Regions from separate parts of the Homo sapiens genome. Here all the other regions are linked to region 1. The links are contacts of gene promoters, found by promoter capture Hi-C in human tissues and cell types (Jung and others, 2019). All regions are on one chromosome and are shown on one strand. The core of a region is centred on a gene start or on the middle of the fragment in contact, and the rest is flanking DNA. Distances in the headings are between cores, read along the strand shown. Region 1 holds the start of DECR2 (2,4-dienoyl-CoA reductase 2). Region 2 holds the start of NHLRC4 (NHL repeat containing 4). Region 3 overlaps LUC7L (LUC7 like). Region 4 holds the start of WDR90 (WD repeat domain 90).

Region 1 (3,325 bases), core at 164-2,663:
AGCCCAGAGGAGTTTGAGCCACCAACTTCAGTGCCTTTCTGTACCCCAAGCCAGCACAAGATTGGACCAATCCTTTTTGCACCAAAGTGCCGGACAACCTTTGTGGTGGGGGGGGGTCTTCACATTATCATAACCTCTCCTCTAAAGGGGAGGCATTAAAATTCACTGTGCCCAGCACATGGGTGGTACACTAATTATGACTTCCCCCAGCTCTGAGGTAGAAATGACGCCTTTATGCAAGTTGTAAGGAGTTGAACAGTAAAGAGGAAGTTTTGCACACCCAGTTCCATAACGTTGTTGGATGTATGAGCCAGGCAGGGGTCCAGAGACCACCAGCCTGCAATCCGGAGAACCCAAGCTAGGCGCGAGCCGGTGCTGTGATCCCGCCAAAGGAGAAGCTGCCTTCCCGGGGAAGGGGCAGAGAGGGGCCGGCGGGCTGAGGCCAACCAGCGCAGAAAGGGCCTGGCAGCCATTACTGTAGCGCTGGCGGCTCTGTCACGCCCCTGAAGCCGCTGGCCCGCGGGTGTGTTCAGCTCAGGAGCGGCCCTGCGTGTTTTTCCCCCGTGGCCGTCGCGGACCCCCGTCTTCCAACAGTGGTGCGGGCGGGGCGCCCCGTCCTGGGTTCGCGGCATAGCCCCGCCCGGGCCCCCACGCGGAACAGAAGTAACGGACCCTTTTTTTTTTGTTTTTGTTTTTGAAACGGAGTGTCGCTCTGTCGCCCAGGATAGAGTGCAGTGGCGCGATCTCGGCTCACTGCAACCTCCGCCTCCCGGGTTCAAGCGATTCTCCTGCCTCAGCCTCCCGAGTAGATGGAACTACAGGCACCCGCCACAATGCCCGGCTAATTTTTGTATTTTTAGTAAAGAGGGGGTTTCGCCATGTTGTCCAGGATGGTCTCGAACTCCTGACCTCGTGATCCGCCCGCCTCGGCCTCCCAAAGTGTTGGGATTACAGGCGTGAGCCACCGCGCCCGGCCCCGGACCCTTCTTTATTGGCCTCAAAACGGGTCATTTTGGGAAGCGGCGCGGGGCTGGCCGCGCTTCCCTGGGCCCCGGCCCTCCCCATGGTGTTTACGGGGAGGCGAACGGGGAGCCCAGAGGCTGCGAGCCTGGCCTGGACCCAGGAGCCAGGGGTATCCCACAAGTCCTGGAGGCTCTGAACGCGGCGCTGACGCCGAATACCTGTGAAAAAGACTCGGGGAGGAGACCCGCAGACCGCCGAGCTTCTGCCGCGGGAACCGCGCCCCCGGCCCCGCAATGCGCCTGCGCCTCGCGCGCCGACTTCCAGTCCCAGCAGGCCGCGGGCGGGGGCGGGGCCTCCGGGGAGAATTCGGGGGAGGGGCGGGGCCTCCGGGAAGCAATCAGGGCAGGGGCGGGGCGTCCGGGGAGTGGGGCGGGGCTCCCGGTTCCAGGCGAGTTCGCAGCTGCGCGCCGGGTCCTGGAGGCCGAGGCCGCTCCCGCCCGTTGTCCCCGCAGTCCCCGACGGGAGCGCCATGGCCCAGCCGCCGCCCGACGTGGAGGGGGACGACTGTCTCCCCGCGTACCGCCACCTCTTCTGCCCGGACCTGCTGCGGTGAGCGGGGCCTGGGAAGCGAGCGCAGCCTTGGTGCGGGGTCCGGTCCGCGGGCGCCGGCGCCCCCACGTGGTCCCCGAGGGCTCGCGTGTTAGGAAACCTGTCTTGCCTGGCTCCTTTCTTTCTTTTTTCTTTCTTTTTTTTTTTTTGAGACGGAATCTCGCTGTGTCGCCCAGGCTGGAGTGCAGTGGCACGATCTCCGCTCACTGCAAACTCTGCCTCCCGGGTTCAAGCGATTCTCCTGCCTCAGCCCGGCTAATTTTTATTTTTAGTAGAGAGGGGGTGTCACCGTGTTGGTCAGGCTCTTTTCGAACTCCTGACCTCAGGTGATCCACCCGCCTCGGCTTCCCAAAGTGCTGGGATTTACAGGCGTGAGCCACCGCGCCCGGCCCAACCTGGCCTCTTTCTTAACAGAAAATTTTAGGTTGAAATCATTTTTCCGGAAGACCCAGAAGGCCCAGGAATGCCAGGTTTTGCCCAGCAGCTCTTCATTTTCCTGCAAACGCCTTGGTGTTCACAAGAGAAGGCAGCCCGGGCAAAGGTCGATCCTCCCCGGTCACCTGCCCTCACTCGGCTAATGGGCGGATCCTTTTTTTTTTTTCCTTTTCTTTTTTTCAATTGGCAACATTTTCAAGTTTCTATTAAAATTTTGATCTTTTGCCAGGAGCAGTGGCTCACGCCTGTAATCCCAGCTCTTTGGGAGGCCGAAGCGGGTAGATCACCAGAGGTCAGGAGTTCGAGACCAGCCTGGCCAACATGGTGAAACCCCGTCTCTGCTAAAAATACAAAAAATTAGCCGGGTGTGGTGGCGCACACCTGTAATCCCAACTACTTGGGAGGCTGAGGCAGGAGAATCACTTGAACTCGGGAGGTGGAGGTTGCAGTGAGCCGAGATCGCACCATTGCACTGGGCAACAAGAGTGAAACTCCATCTCAAAAAAAGAAAACAAGTTTTAAATTATGTTCTCCAAGGACAGGTATTGACAATTCTCTCTGAGTGTTCTGCAGGAAAAAAAAAAAGTTTTTTTTCGAAACGGAGTCTCATTCTGGGTTGAAGCAATTCTCCTGCCTCAGCCTCCCAATTCTCCTGCTTCAGCCTCAGTGCGCCCAAGTGGGACTATAGGCACACAATACCACGCTGGGCTAATTGTATTTCTAGTAGAGGTGAGTGTCACCATGTTGGTCAGGCTGGTCTGGAACTCCTGACCTCAGATGATCCACCTGCCTCGGCCTCCCAAAGTGCTGGGATGACAGGAGTGAGACGCTGCACCTGGCCCAAAATTAATCTTTAATAATTAAGAATAGGAAAGGCAACTTGGAGATCAGCAAAAGTTTGCCATCCATCTGGTACAGTTTGTGCCAGTCATACCGATCAGTACACATTTAATGCGTACAAGAAAATCTCTAATAAATAAAAAAGCCATATTATCCCGACGTAGCTTGCTGAATCTCAGGTATCATATTTGATATTAGTGCCATGCAGGGCTTAGGAGAGAGGAAATTATAACCTCTATCTTGTTTAAGCCAGGGTATTTTTCTCTCTTGTATCTACTTCTGTCCATTTCTGTCAAAAGACACAGAAATACCCTTTCCCCCACTGCACTTTGCAAGTTTGTGTCAGCACAAGTTCAGGACCAGCCTGAGCAACAAAACGATACCCCTCTCTAGAAAAACTAGATGAAAAATTAGCTGGGCACTCTGGCATGCACCTGTAGTCCCAGCTACTGGGGAGGCTGAAGCAGGAGGATCCTTC
Region 2 (3,289 bases), core at 30-2,529, 170 kb after region 1:
GAGCTGAGCCAGGAGAGCCGTGTGGACTGGGCTGCTCGGCCTGTGTCTTGGTGTGTCGGGGGTGGAGAGGCGTGTGGACTGGGCTGCTCGGCCTGTGTCTTGGTGTGTCGGGGGTGGGCACGGACCCCTGAACATCCTCTAGCCTCTGAATCCAGCAAGGCCGCGCTCATATCAGCTCTCCTGCGGTTAAACGGTGGCCCCGGGGCTCTGTGGCTGGAGGCTGCTCACCCAGCGTGGGCTCTGCTGGCCCCTGCCAGCCCCTGCAGCCGTGATAGGTATCAGCCTTCACAGCTCACTGCCTCCCTCCCAGCAGGGCCTGGCTTGGCCCTCCCACGGGCAGGGGATGGGCAGACAGGGAGGGGCACCCGGGACCCCCACAGCAAATCACTTCTCTCCTGGGAGAGCTGGCCACACCCTCCACGCCCACCCTGGAATGGGCTCTGGAGCCCACATCGCCCCCCCAGGAGGAGAAGCAGTTCCTGCCTGCGTCCAGCCGGGCTGGGGCCAGTCCAAGCAGGCTGGCAGCGGCCCCATTAACTACCAGGGAGATAGCATCAGCCCCGACCCTGCCTCGGGGCAGCTAGAGCTGGGGTGCTGCCTGGCCAGGCGCGGAGTGCTGTGGGGACAGGTCCCAGCCGGGCCCCTCTACCCAGAGGCTTCCTGGAGGGGCTGCAGGGGGCTCTGGGCAGCCAGGAACTGTTCCCAAGTCCCGAGTCTGAGGGAGACTCCCTGTCCTCAGCCCCCGCCCCCCATATGTCCACTGCACCCCATATGTCCACTGCACCTCAGTTTCTCACCCCCACTGAGCAGACAGGTGAGCATGGCCTTGCTGGGGGCAACAGCACCCGTCTCCCAGGTGTGGAGACACGACCTCCTTCGCTGTCACCCGTGGGGAGCAGGACAGGCCTCATGGAGGGTGCCTCAGCCAGCAGGTCACCCGCCTGTGGTCCAGACCCAAGGACCCTGCTTGGGGGTGGCAGCCTGGGGCTGCCTTGCCACTTGGAGTAATGAACTTGCTGGTTGTGGGGGGACCATGGGGGACCCCTGGAGGGGGGTGGGCTGCATGGCATCTGGCCGTGTAGGGGACGTGGGAATAGTGTCCGGGCAGAGGGCGCAGCCTGCAACAAGGCGCGGAGGCAGGAACACCACAGCATGGGGAGTCCTCAGGGGACCTGGTTTTTCTTTCATAGAAGCTTCAGGGGCCAAGGCCGGAGACTGCACTCTCCCTCCTCCACCCGGCCCAGCTGCGTCCCTGCCAGTGGCTCCTCCCACTTCCTCCAGTTCTAGTTTCCAACAACAGAGGCTGCAGCCACCCAGCCCCGAAGCAGGGCCCAGCGAGACAGGGCCCAGGTAAGAGACCCCTCCCCCCGGCCTCTCTCGGTGGGGCAGGTGGAGGCCCTCGGAATAGGCTGCCTCGCCCCTAAGGGGTCAGAAGTCTCCCTGACCTAGGGGCTCGGGTAGAAGGGCTGTGTGTGGGTGACCGCCCCCCCGCCGTAGAAAGGGGTTCCACAGGCAGATGGATTTGAGAAATGTTGCTTATCTGTCTGAGGCCCATGAGCTCATCTGGGGCTCAGGGGAAAACCCACAGCGAGCTCCACGGGTCATGTGTCTCCCAGACTCAAGTCCCAGGCACCTAGACACTAGGGTGGCCGCTGGGCTTGGTGGCCAGGTAGACCCTCAGGACCAGGAGGACCCGGCCTCATAGGAAGAAACTGGAGGAGTGACTTTGCCATTCCCACACACAGTGGGGCCTTATTCTCTCTCTTGCAGCCCCAAGCGTGACCCAGCTGCAGAGAAGCTGAGACGGTGATTCGGACTGACTGGACTCTGGCCTCCAGGTGTCTGCACCTCACACTGGACCCACCTGGAGACTCCACGGGCTCCCGGCAGCTCCGGCTGCTTGGGTGGATCCGGGTGCCCGCAGGGGCTGTGGGAGGGCCCCGGGGCCTGCACTGCTCCCCCGATGGCCTGCTCTTCCTCACGGCCGGGGCTGCACCCTGTGTCCACGTGCTAGATCTGGAGGGACGCCCCATCTGCCTCCTGCCCTGCCGCACTCCGGGGAGCGGGGCCTTCGTTCCAGAGGACGTGGCTGTGACAGCGTCAGGGCTTGTGGTGGTCAGCGATCCCATCCATGGGGCTGTCCATGCACTCCAGCACACAGCCCGGGACCCCGGGGGCCACTGGGTGACAGTGGGCACCTTCCTGTCTCCCCGAGGGCTGGCTGTGGATGCCCTCAACCGCCTCCTGGTGACGGACTACTTGCCTGGGGCTGTGCACAGCTTCTCGTTGGGTCCTGCTTGGGAGCCCCTGGCCCCAGCCTCCATGCTGGGTCTGGAGGGCCCCTGCTGGGTGGGCCCAGGGCCTGATGGGGGCCTTGCTGTGAGTGAGGAGTTTGGGGATGTGAGGCTGTTTGGCAGTGCCCGCCAACCCCTGGGCTCCCTGGGGGGCTGGACGGGGCACACTTTCGGCTGCCCAGCGGGCATCTGCTCCAACTCAGAGGGCAATGTTATTGTGGCAGACGAGCAGAGGCGCCAGGTGACCCTGTTTCCCCGGGCTGGGCCACCCATCTGCCTGGTGTCAGAGGGGCTTGGGCAGCCCTTGGGAGTGGCCTGTGCACCCCAGGGCCAGCTCCTGGTGGCTGATGCCAAGGACAACTCCATCAAGGTGTACCAGGGCCTCAAGGAGCTGGCCTGACCTGAGGCTGGGTTGGAGCAGCCCTCCTGTGCCTGAGGCCAGCTCCCAGGCCCTTGGATCACCGCGGGAGGAACCCTCAGGATGGGTGGAGCCTCCAGGCTATGGGCATTGCCTGCCTGATGCCAGCACCACCTGGGCTGGGCCCTGGGCTTGGCTCGAGTTCTCCTGCTGGTGAGGCTCCGGATCTCAGGAGCAGCCCTGAGTCTGCTTCCCAGGCTGCCCCTGCCAGGCCTGCAGCCTCCCCAGCCAGGGCTGCTCTCTGCTGTCCCCATTCAGTGCCCTGGCCCCTGCATTCATGCCCCCCACACCCCCTCAGGCCCTGTGCCTGGACTTTGGGGCTGGCAGCTGAAGCCTTGAGATCCTGGGCCAGCTGCCGGCACACAGCTAGGCAGACTCTCCCACCAGGTGCCCCTGCCCAGGCCTCCTAATCGGGGGCAGACAGGCAGGGAGGGTGTGGCTGGGCTGGGCTGGGCGGGGCGGCCTGGGGCAGGGGTGTGGCCCCTAAATGTCCCCAACCTCAGAGGGACCTAGAGTCCTGAGCCTCCAGTAGCTTCTCTGGGCCTGGCAGAGGTAAGGGGGAGGCAACCCTGGAGTG
Region 3 (3,357 bases), core at 6-2,505, 200 kb before region 1:
AGACCAGCCTGACCGACATGGTGAAACCCCGTCTTCTCTACTAAAAATACAAAAATTAGCTGGGCATGGTGGCAGGCACCTGTAATCTCAGCTGCTCAGGAGGCTGAGGCAGGATAATCAGTTGAACCCAGGAGTTGGAGGTTGCAGCGAGCCATCGCACCACCGCACTCCAGCCTGGGCAACAGAGAGAGACTCCGTGTAAAAAAAAAGTATAATAATGTTGAAAGACACAATCTGCCAAAACTCACACAAGAAGAAACAGATGATCTGAATGAATCTGTATATTAATAACCTTCCAAAACAGAAAGCATCAGGTCCAGATGGGTTTACTGGTGAATTCTACCAAAGCATTAGGGAGCAAATCATGCCAATTCTCTACAATCGCTTTCAGAAAATAGAAGCAGAGAGAGTATCTTCTAACTCCTTCTATGGGGACATTACCATAATACCAAAACCAGATAAAGGTATTACAAGAGGCCAGGCATCATGGTGACTCATGACTCTAATCCCAGCACTTTGGGAAGCAGAGCTAGGCAGATCGCTTGAGCCAAGGATTTCAAGACCAGCCTTGACAACATGGCGAAACCCAGTCTCTCCAAAAAATACAAAAAATTAGCTGGGCTTGGTGGCATGTGCCTTCAGTCCTAGCTATTTGAAAGGCTGAGGCGGGAGAATCAAATGAGCCCAGGAGATCAAGCCTTCAGTGAGCCAAGATCGCGCCACTGCACTCCAGCCTGGGTGAGAAAGTGAGACCGTCTCAGGGCGGGGGGCGGGGTGGAGGTGGGGAGGGCTGGGCGCGGTGGCTCACACCTGTAATCCCAGCACTTTGAGAGGCCAAGGCAGGCGGATCATGAGGTCAGGAGATAGAGGCCATCCTGGCTAACACGGTTAAATCATATCTCTACTAAAAACACAAAAAATTAGCCAGGTATGGTGGCACACGCCTATAGTCTCAGCTACTCGGGAGGCTGAGGCAGGAGAATCGCTTGAGCCCGGGAGGCGGAGGTTGCAGTGAGCCGAGATCACGCCACTGCACTCCAGCCTGGGCGAATGAATGAGACTCCATCTCAAAAAAACACAAAAACAAAAACCAAAAAACAAATGACCAATTACACCAGCACCCGCAAGCATGAAATATTTAGGTAGAAATCTAACAAAACATGCATGAGATCTTCACTATGAGAAAAATTACAAGACTCATAAAAGGTATCAAATGGCCTGGCGAAGTGGCTCACGCCTGTGATCCCAGCACTTTGGGAGGCCAAGGCAGACGGATCACCTGAGGTCAGAAGTTTGAGACCAGCTTGGCCAACACGGTGAAACCCCATCCCTACTAGAAATGAAAAAAAAAAAAAAAAATTAGCCATGGGCCGAGCATGGTGGCTCACTCCTGTAATCCCAGCAGTTTGGGAGACCGAGGCGGGTGGACCACGAGGTCAGATTGAGACCATCCTGGCTAACACAGTGAAACCCCATCTCTACTGAAAGTACAAAAAAATTAGCCGGGCGTGGTGGTGGGCGCCTGTAGTCTCAGCTACTCTGGAGGCTGAGGCAGGAGAATGGTGTGAACCGAGGAAGCGGAGCTTGCAGTGAACTGAGATCGCACCACTGCACTCCAGCCTGGGGGACAGAGCGAGACTCCATCTCAAAAAAAAAAAAAAGAGAGAAAATTATAAGGAAGAGAAAATAAAATACATTTATAGTACTGTGCTGTACTGATCACTTCTGTACGTTTACACTGCTCATTTACAAGATGAATTGTCCGTCTGAAATGGTAGCAACTGCAGCTGCAGACCTCAATCTAATGTATACATCAAGCAACTCAACTTTTTCTTGTAATATCATGGCTGTTCTTGCCTTCTTGGGAGCATTTTCAGCATCACTAGTGGCATATGGATCCTATGGCATTACTCAAAGTTTATGGTATTGCACTAAACACGATGAAAAACGCCTAGGAACCCTGTGAGTTCACTTTTTACTGCAGTAGGAATGTACTGGAGAGGTGAACTGCTCCTTCGGAGATGATGAGTGTCACGTGGTGTTTCAAGGGGATACTCACGACCCTTGAGCTCCACACAATGGCAACAGGAAGTGGCATGAATTATTACAGTAGTACAGTACCTATTACAGTTATTCTTAGGCAGCCCTGATTTAATACTGCACCTCTGCACTACGTTTGTTAACATCTCTCTACGGCGAATGCTGTCATGTATGGTCTGTAAGCGTTTGCATGTAGCCTCTTCTTTTTTAGAGACAGGGTCTTGCTATGTTATCCAGGCTGGACTCCAAAAGTCCTAGGATTAAGGGATCCTCTCATCTCAGCCTCCCGAACAGCTGAGACTAAAGCCAAGAGCCACCATAGCTGGCCATATGCTTAAGTTTTGACAAATGTTACCTTTTCATAATAGACTTGTGTATATTTTATGGCAGTAAATAAAAGACTAGTATCCTCATATATTTTATGTATTCATGACATACCTAACATTTTCTGCAGACTTTGGGTGATAATGACAAGTCAACGTAGACCCACTGACTGTGGGCAGATGCTAGGAATGGAGGAGGCTGTCTGAGGAGAGGGTACATGGAGAATCTCTGTACTTTCCTCTCAATTTAGCTATGAAGCTAAAACTGCTTGCAAAAACAGCGTTTATAAATTTTTTTGAGACAGAGTCTCGCTCTGTCGCCCAGGCTGGAGTGCAGTGGCGCAATCTCAGCTCACTGCAAGCTCCGCCTCCCGGGTTCACGCCATTCTCCTTCCTCAGCCTCCGGAGCAGCTGGGACTACAGGTGCCTGGCGCCATGCCCGGCTAATTTTTTTGTATTTTTAGTAGAGACGGGGATTCGCTGTGTTAGCCAGGATGGTCTTATCTCCTGACCTCGTGATCCGCCCGCCTCGGCCTTCCAAAGTGCTGGGATGACAGGCGTGAGCCACTGTGCTGGGCCCAAAATGTATAAATTTTTTAAAAAATGGGAGCAAGCATGGGCTCAATTAATTCCAACGGTCAACGCTGCCAAATTACTAAGATTTCTCTTGCCCTAAGGCACTTATCTCACCAACCTCAGCTTCTTTTTTCTTCGCACGAACTTTTTCCACTTCCATAAGAATCTTCTGGGATTCATCCACATTACCTTCAGCCCCTAGCTGTTCGGCTTTAGCAAGGAGTTTTCCTATTTCTTCATTTAACTCATGTACTTTTTCTGCCTGTGAGGAGAAAGAATGAGGTAAGCAGACATCTGAAAATGAAAGTGAATGCAAAGGCAACAAGGGTTTCTCCTGCTCCATTTCCAGTCTGAAAATAAGTGGAAGAGCTAAAGATCCACACTTAACAATGAAGGCATCCTTACTGCCAGCATTGAG
Region 4 (3,424 bases), core at 455-2,954, 250 kb after region 1:
ACTCTGCCCTTGTGTCCTGTGACCAGCCCTGTGTGGGGCTGGAGTCCAGGGTGACCATCAGGCCCTGGGTGGGCGATGGGGTGCCTGGGACCTGGCTCAGCCCGACTGCCCTCCTCCCACAGCCTGGCAGCAGGTGCAACAGCAGCTGGATGGTGGCCCAGCCGGTGAGGGCGGGCCAAGGCCTGTGCAGTACGTGGAGAGGACCCCCAATCCCCGGCTGCAGAGTGAGCCCCCCAACCCTGTCCCCCCAGGAGAGACCCCCCAGCCCCTCTGATCCTGACCCAGGCCCTGCCAGGTTCCCACCCCAGGGGATGAGGGAGGGGACTCTTGTGCAGAAACCCCTTCTTCCCAGCGCCTGCCGCACTCGGAGTCCGGGTGAGCGGCTTGTGGTTAGCTCCAGGGGAGACTTGCCGGCTGGCCTGGGAGGCAGCATCACTGCCCAGCCTTCTCTGCCCACAGACTTTGTGCCCATTGACCTAGACGAGTGGTGGGCGCAGCAGTTCCTGGCGAGAATCACCAGCTGTTCCTAGTGGCTGCTGGGAGGGGGCGCTGCTACACGGCCGACCTGTCGCCAGGAGAGAAGCATGGCGCCCTGCCCACCCACTGCGCCTGGCTGGGTGCCGGCCACACCTGAAGTGCCAGCATTTGGACTTTTGCACCTTTTTTTCCCTTGGCCCGGCTGTCCCAACCAAGCTGCCATGGCCAAGGGCCGAACCCGTCTGACCTCAGCCCTGCTCACTGTGCCCAGGGACCAGCGACCAGCCCCTGGGGCTGGCAGGGAGGAGCTCCAGGCTAATAAAGTGGAGAAACTGTCTTTTTGGAGTGTCTTTGACTTGGGAGGGTGTAGGGGGGGTTCTCATGTCCAGTTCCAGTCCACAGCCTGGGACGCCAGGCCCAGCACAAACTCCCCTTGTAGCCCTGTTCCTTCAAGCCGTTAGCTTCTCACCCAGCTGCCCTGCGACAGGTAGGAGGGACGTTAGCCAGCCCACCTTGCTTGGAAGTCTGGGGACCCCACTTGGTTCCTCTTTCCTCTCCCGTTGGCGTTGACTGGGACCGAAGCCGAGACTCAAGGCCTAAAGACATTAAATGGCCCCGGAGTGCAGTCCACCACCCCCCACTACCGGCACTGGGGCTGTGTCTCAGAACGCCAGGTCCCATTCTGAATCCGCCGGGCCCGGCCGCAGGACACTGGGCGAAGGAGTACGTGGGGAACCTGATAGGACGAACGTGGGAACCAGCCCCTCCGCGGGCGCCCGCACTACCTTCCCTGATGGACGGGGATGACCCAGCCCACCTGAGTCAGGACCCAGGGTACCCAGGTGTGGAGCAGGGGCCTCTGGACGGCGAGAGAGCGGCAGGGTGAGGCCCGGCCGTCCGTGGCATGGCCAGGCCTCAGCGCGACCTCGCCTCGCTGCTTGCATGCGGCGGGAGCCCCGGCCGGCCGAGGCGCTGACAGGTGGGCGCGGCGGAGGATCCGCAACCGGCGCGGGCTTCGAAGCCGGTCGGGCTAACAGGGGGCTGCCTTGGGAGGCCCGCGGGGCAAAGGGCAGCGGGATTCGCGGCTGGAGCAACCCTGGAGGCCGCTGACGTGAGCGGGGTACTCCCACCGGGGAGGTCACGTGGCCAGGGCGCCGCCATGACGGCGGAAGTAATGGCGGAAGTGGCACCGTTGCCAGGCAGCCGTTGCCTGGCGTCGCGGGGCGTACTCTGCGCTGGGCGCGCGGAGGCCTAGGCGGGAAGCTCGAGCGGCGGCGCCATGGCCCGAGGTAGCGCGCGGCTGGCGGGGGTCCCGAGGATCCCGGGTTCCGGGGTTCCGGGGTCCAGGGTCGGCGGCCGGAGCGCTCAGGGCCCCCGCCTAGGCCCTGAGGCCAGAGTCCCCGCTCAGGCAGGGTCCCGTCTGCCGGGCGCCCACCCTCGGGCTCCCGGAGCTTGGCTTCCCTCGGGCGCCCGGCCTCGTCCCGCCAGCCTAGCTGGCGTTGGCGTCGCCGGGGAAGGCGCGGAGAGCCCCGGCTCCTGCCTGGTCCCCGAGGCCCGGCCCAGCCCCGCAGTGGCCCCGGCTCGCGTGGCCGAGTCCCCTGACGCCCGGCGCCCGCTCCCCGCAGCGTGGCAGCACCCGTTCCTCAACGTCTTCAGACACTTCCGGGTGGACGAGTGGAAGCGCTCCGCCAAGCAGGGGGACGTGGCCGTGGTCACGGTAGGCGGCCGGGGGCTCGCCCGGAGCCCACACCCCTGCCCTGCCCCCAGGAGAGCTGCCCCGCCCCCGAGGGCCCCCTCGCCCCCGCTGCACTTCTTCTGGGTGCTGTCGGTGATGCGGGCTCCCGCTTCTCCAGGACAAGACCCTGAAGGGCGCCGTGTATCGCATTCGGGGCTCAGTCTCTGCCGCCAACTACATCCAGCTCCCTAAGAGCAGCACCCAGTCTCTGGGGCTGACGGGACGATACCTGTATGTGCTCTTTCGGCCCCTGCCCAGCAAGCACTTCGTCATCCACCTCGATGTGTCCTCCAAGGTACGGAGCCCGCGGCTGGGGGCTGCGTGGGAGCCCCGGCACCCCTGCGGCCCCTGTCTCCTCACGGCCCTGCTCCGTCCCCACAGGACAACCAAGTCATCCGTGTGTCTTTCTCCAACCTCTTCAAGGAGTTTAAGTCTACGGCCACGTGGCTCCAGTTTCCCTTGGTCCTGGAGGCCAGGACACCTCAGAGAGGTGACACCAAGATGGGGTGTGGATGATCCAGGACAGGTGGCTGGAGGGAGTTGGTGCAGGCCCAGTGAGGCTCCTCTGCGGCCTGGAGGACAACCTGGCGGGGGCACAAGCTCACAGTTCTGGGAGTCGCGGGCTGTCAGGAGGGTGGGCGCTGACCCTGAGTGCCCATCCTGCAGATCTGGTGGGTTTGGCCCCCTCCGGAGCCCGCTGGACCTGCCTGCAGCTCGATCTGCAGGACGTTCTCCTGGTCTACCTGAACCGGTGCTACGGCCATCTCAAGAGCATCAGGCTGTGCGCCAGCCTGCTGGTCAGGAACCTGTACACCAGTGACCTGTGCTTTGAGCCTGGTGAGGGCCGCACCTGCACTCCCCACTCCATATCTCACCCATGCTCTCAGCCCTGGAGAGGCCCAAGTCCAGGGTGCTTGGGAAAATACAGTGCTCGAGCTGTGCTGTCTCTGAGCTCTGGCCAGAACCCATCCCAGAGGCAGCCCTGGGGTCAGAACCCATCCCAGAGGCAGCCCTGGGGTGGGGCGGTGGCTGGGCTGGTGGCGTGGCAGTGCCTTGGCGGGTGCCCTGTGTTCAGGTGGCTAAACAGCCTCCCTTGACCTGGAACAACCCTGCTCCTTGTAGCCATCTCTGGGGCCCAGTGGGCAAAGCTGCCCGTGACTCCTATGCCTCGGGAAATGGCATTCCCTGTGCCCAAGGGAGAGAGCTGGCATG

Evidence for each region. The method cuts DNA at HindIII sites, captures the fragments that hold promoters and counts their contacts. A contact is called where the count stands out against the background at its distance.
Region 2: a contact is called between the fragment with the promoter of NHLRC4 here and the fragment with the promoter of DECR2 in region 1, in 1 of the 25 tissues and cell types used here (lymphoblastoid cells).
Region 3: a contact is called between a fragment that was not itself captured here and the fragment with the promoter of DECR2 in region 1, in 1 of the 25 tissues and cell types used here (dorsolateral prefrontal cortex).
Region 4: a contact is called between the fragment with the promoter of WDR90 here and the fragment with the promoter of DECR2 in region 1, in 2 of the 25 tissues and cell types used here (IMR-90 fibroblasts and lymphoblastoid cells).

Annotation. Positions count from the first base shown.
Region 1 is chr16:400,472-403,796 of GRCh38, forward strand. DECR2 (2,4-dienoyl-CoA reductase 2) reads left to right here and starts at 1,414. Exons shown (of 9, transcript NM_020664.4): 1 at 1,414-1,572. The coding sequence starts at 1,493. It overlaps NME4 (NME/NM23 nucleoside diphosphate kinase 4), which reads left to right. Exons shown (of 5, transcript NM_005009.3): 5 at 1-283. RefSeq lists enhancers at 237-546, 394-979. The HindIII fragment of the contact is 11,138 bases long and covers 181-3,325 here.
Region 2 is chr16:565,726-569,014 of GRCh38, forward strand. It overlaps NHLRC4 (NHL repeat containing 4), which reads left to right and starts at 1,280. Exons shown (of 2, transcript NM_001301159.2): 1 at 1,280-1,350; 2 at 1,746-3,289. The coding sequence starts at 2,323. The coding sequence ends at 2,694. RefSeq lists enhancers at 711-1,606, 1,555-1,604. The HindIII fragment of the contact is 8,856 bases long and covers 1-3,289 here.
Region 3 is chr16:202,947-206,303 of GRCh38, forward strand. It overlaps LUC7L (LUC7 like), which reads right to left. Exons shown (of 10, transcript NM_201412.3): 5 at 3,058-3,201. Among named protein-coding and RNA genes, the nearest start is that of HBQ1, 24 kb to the left of the region's middle. The HindIII fragment of the contact is 7,140 bases long and covers 1-3,357 here.
Region 4 is chr16:647,661-651,084 of GRCh38, forward strand. It overlaps WDR90 (WD repeat domain 90), which reads left to right and starts at 1,705. Exons shown (of 41, transcript NM_145294.5): 1 at 1,705-1,766; 2 at 2,103-2,194; 3 at 2,331-2,507; 4 at 2,594-2,702; 5 at 2,879-3,049; 6 at 3,335-3,424. The coding sequence starts at 1,757. MCRIP2 (MAPK regulated corepressor interacting protein 2) reads left to right here. Exons shown (of 5, transcript NM_138418.4): 4 at 123-224; 5 at 460-814. The coding sequence ends at 530. LOC105371038 (a long non-coding RNA gene) reads right to left here and starts at 1,653. Exons shown (of 2, transcript NR_135177.1): 1 at 1,295-1,653; 2 at 798-955. RefSeq lists enhancers at 270-319, 1,742-2,564 and silencers at 1,740-1,839, 1,950-2,079. The HindIII fragment of the contact is 7,525 bases long and covers 1-3,424 here.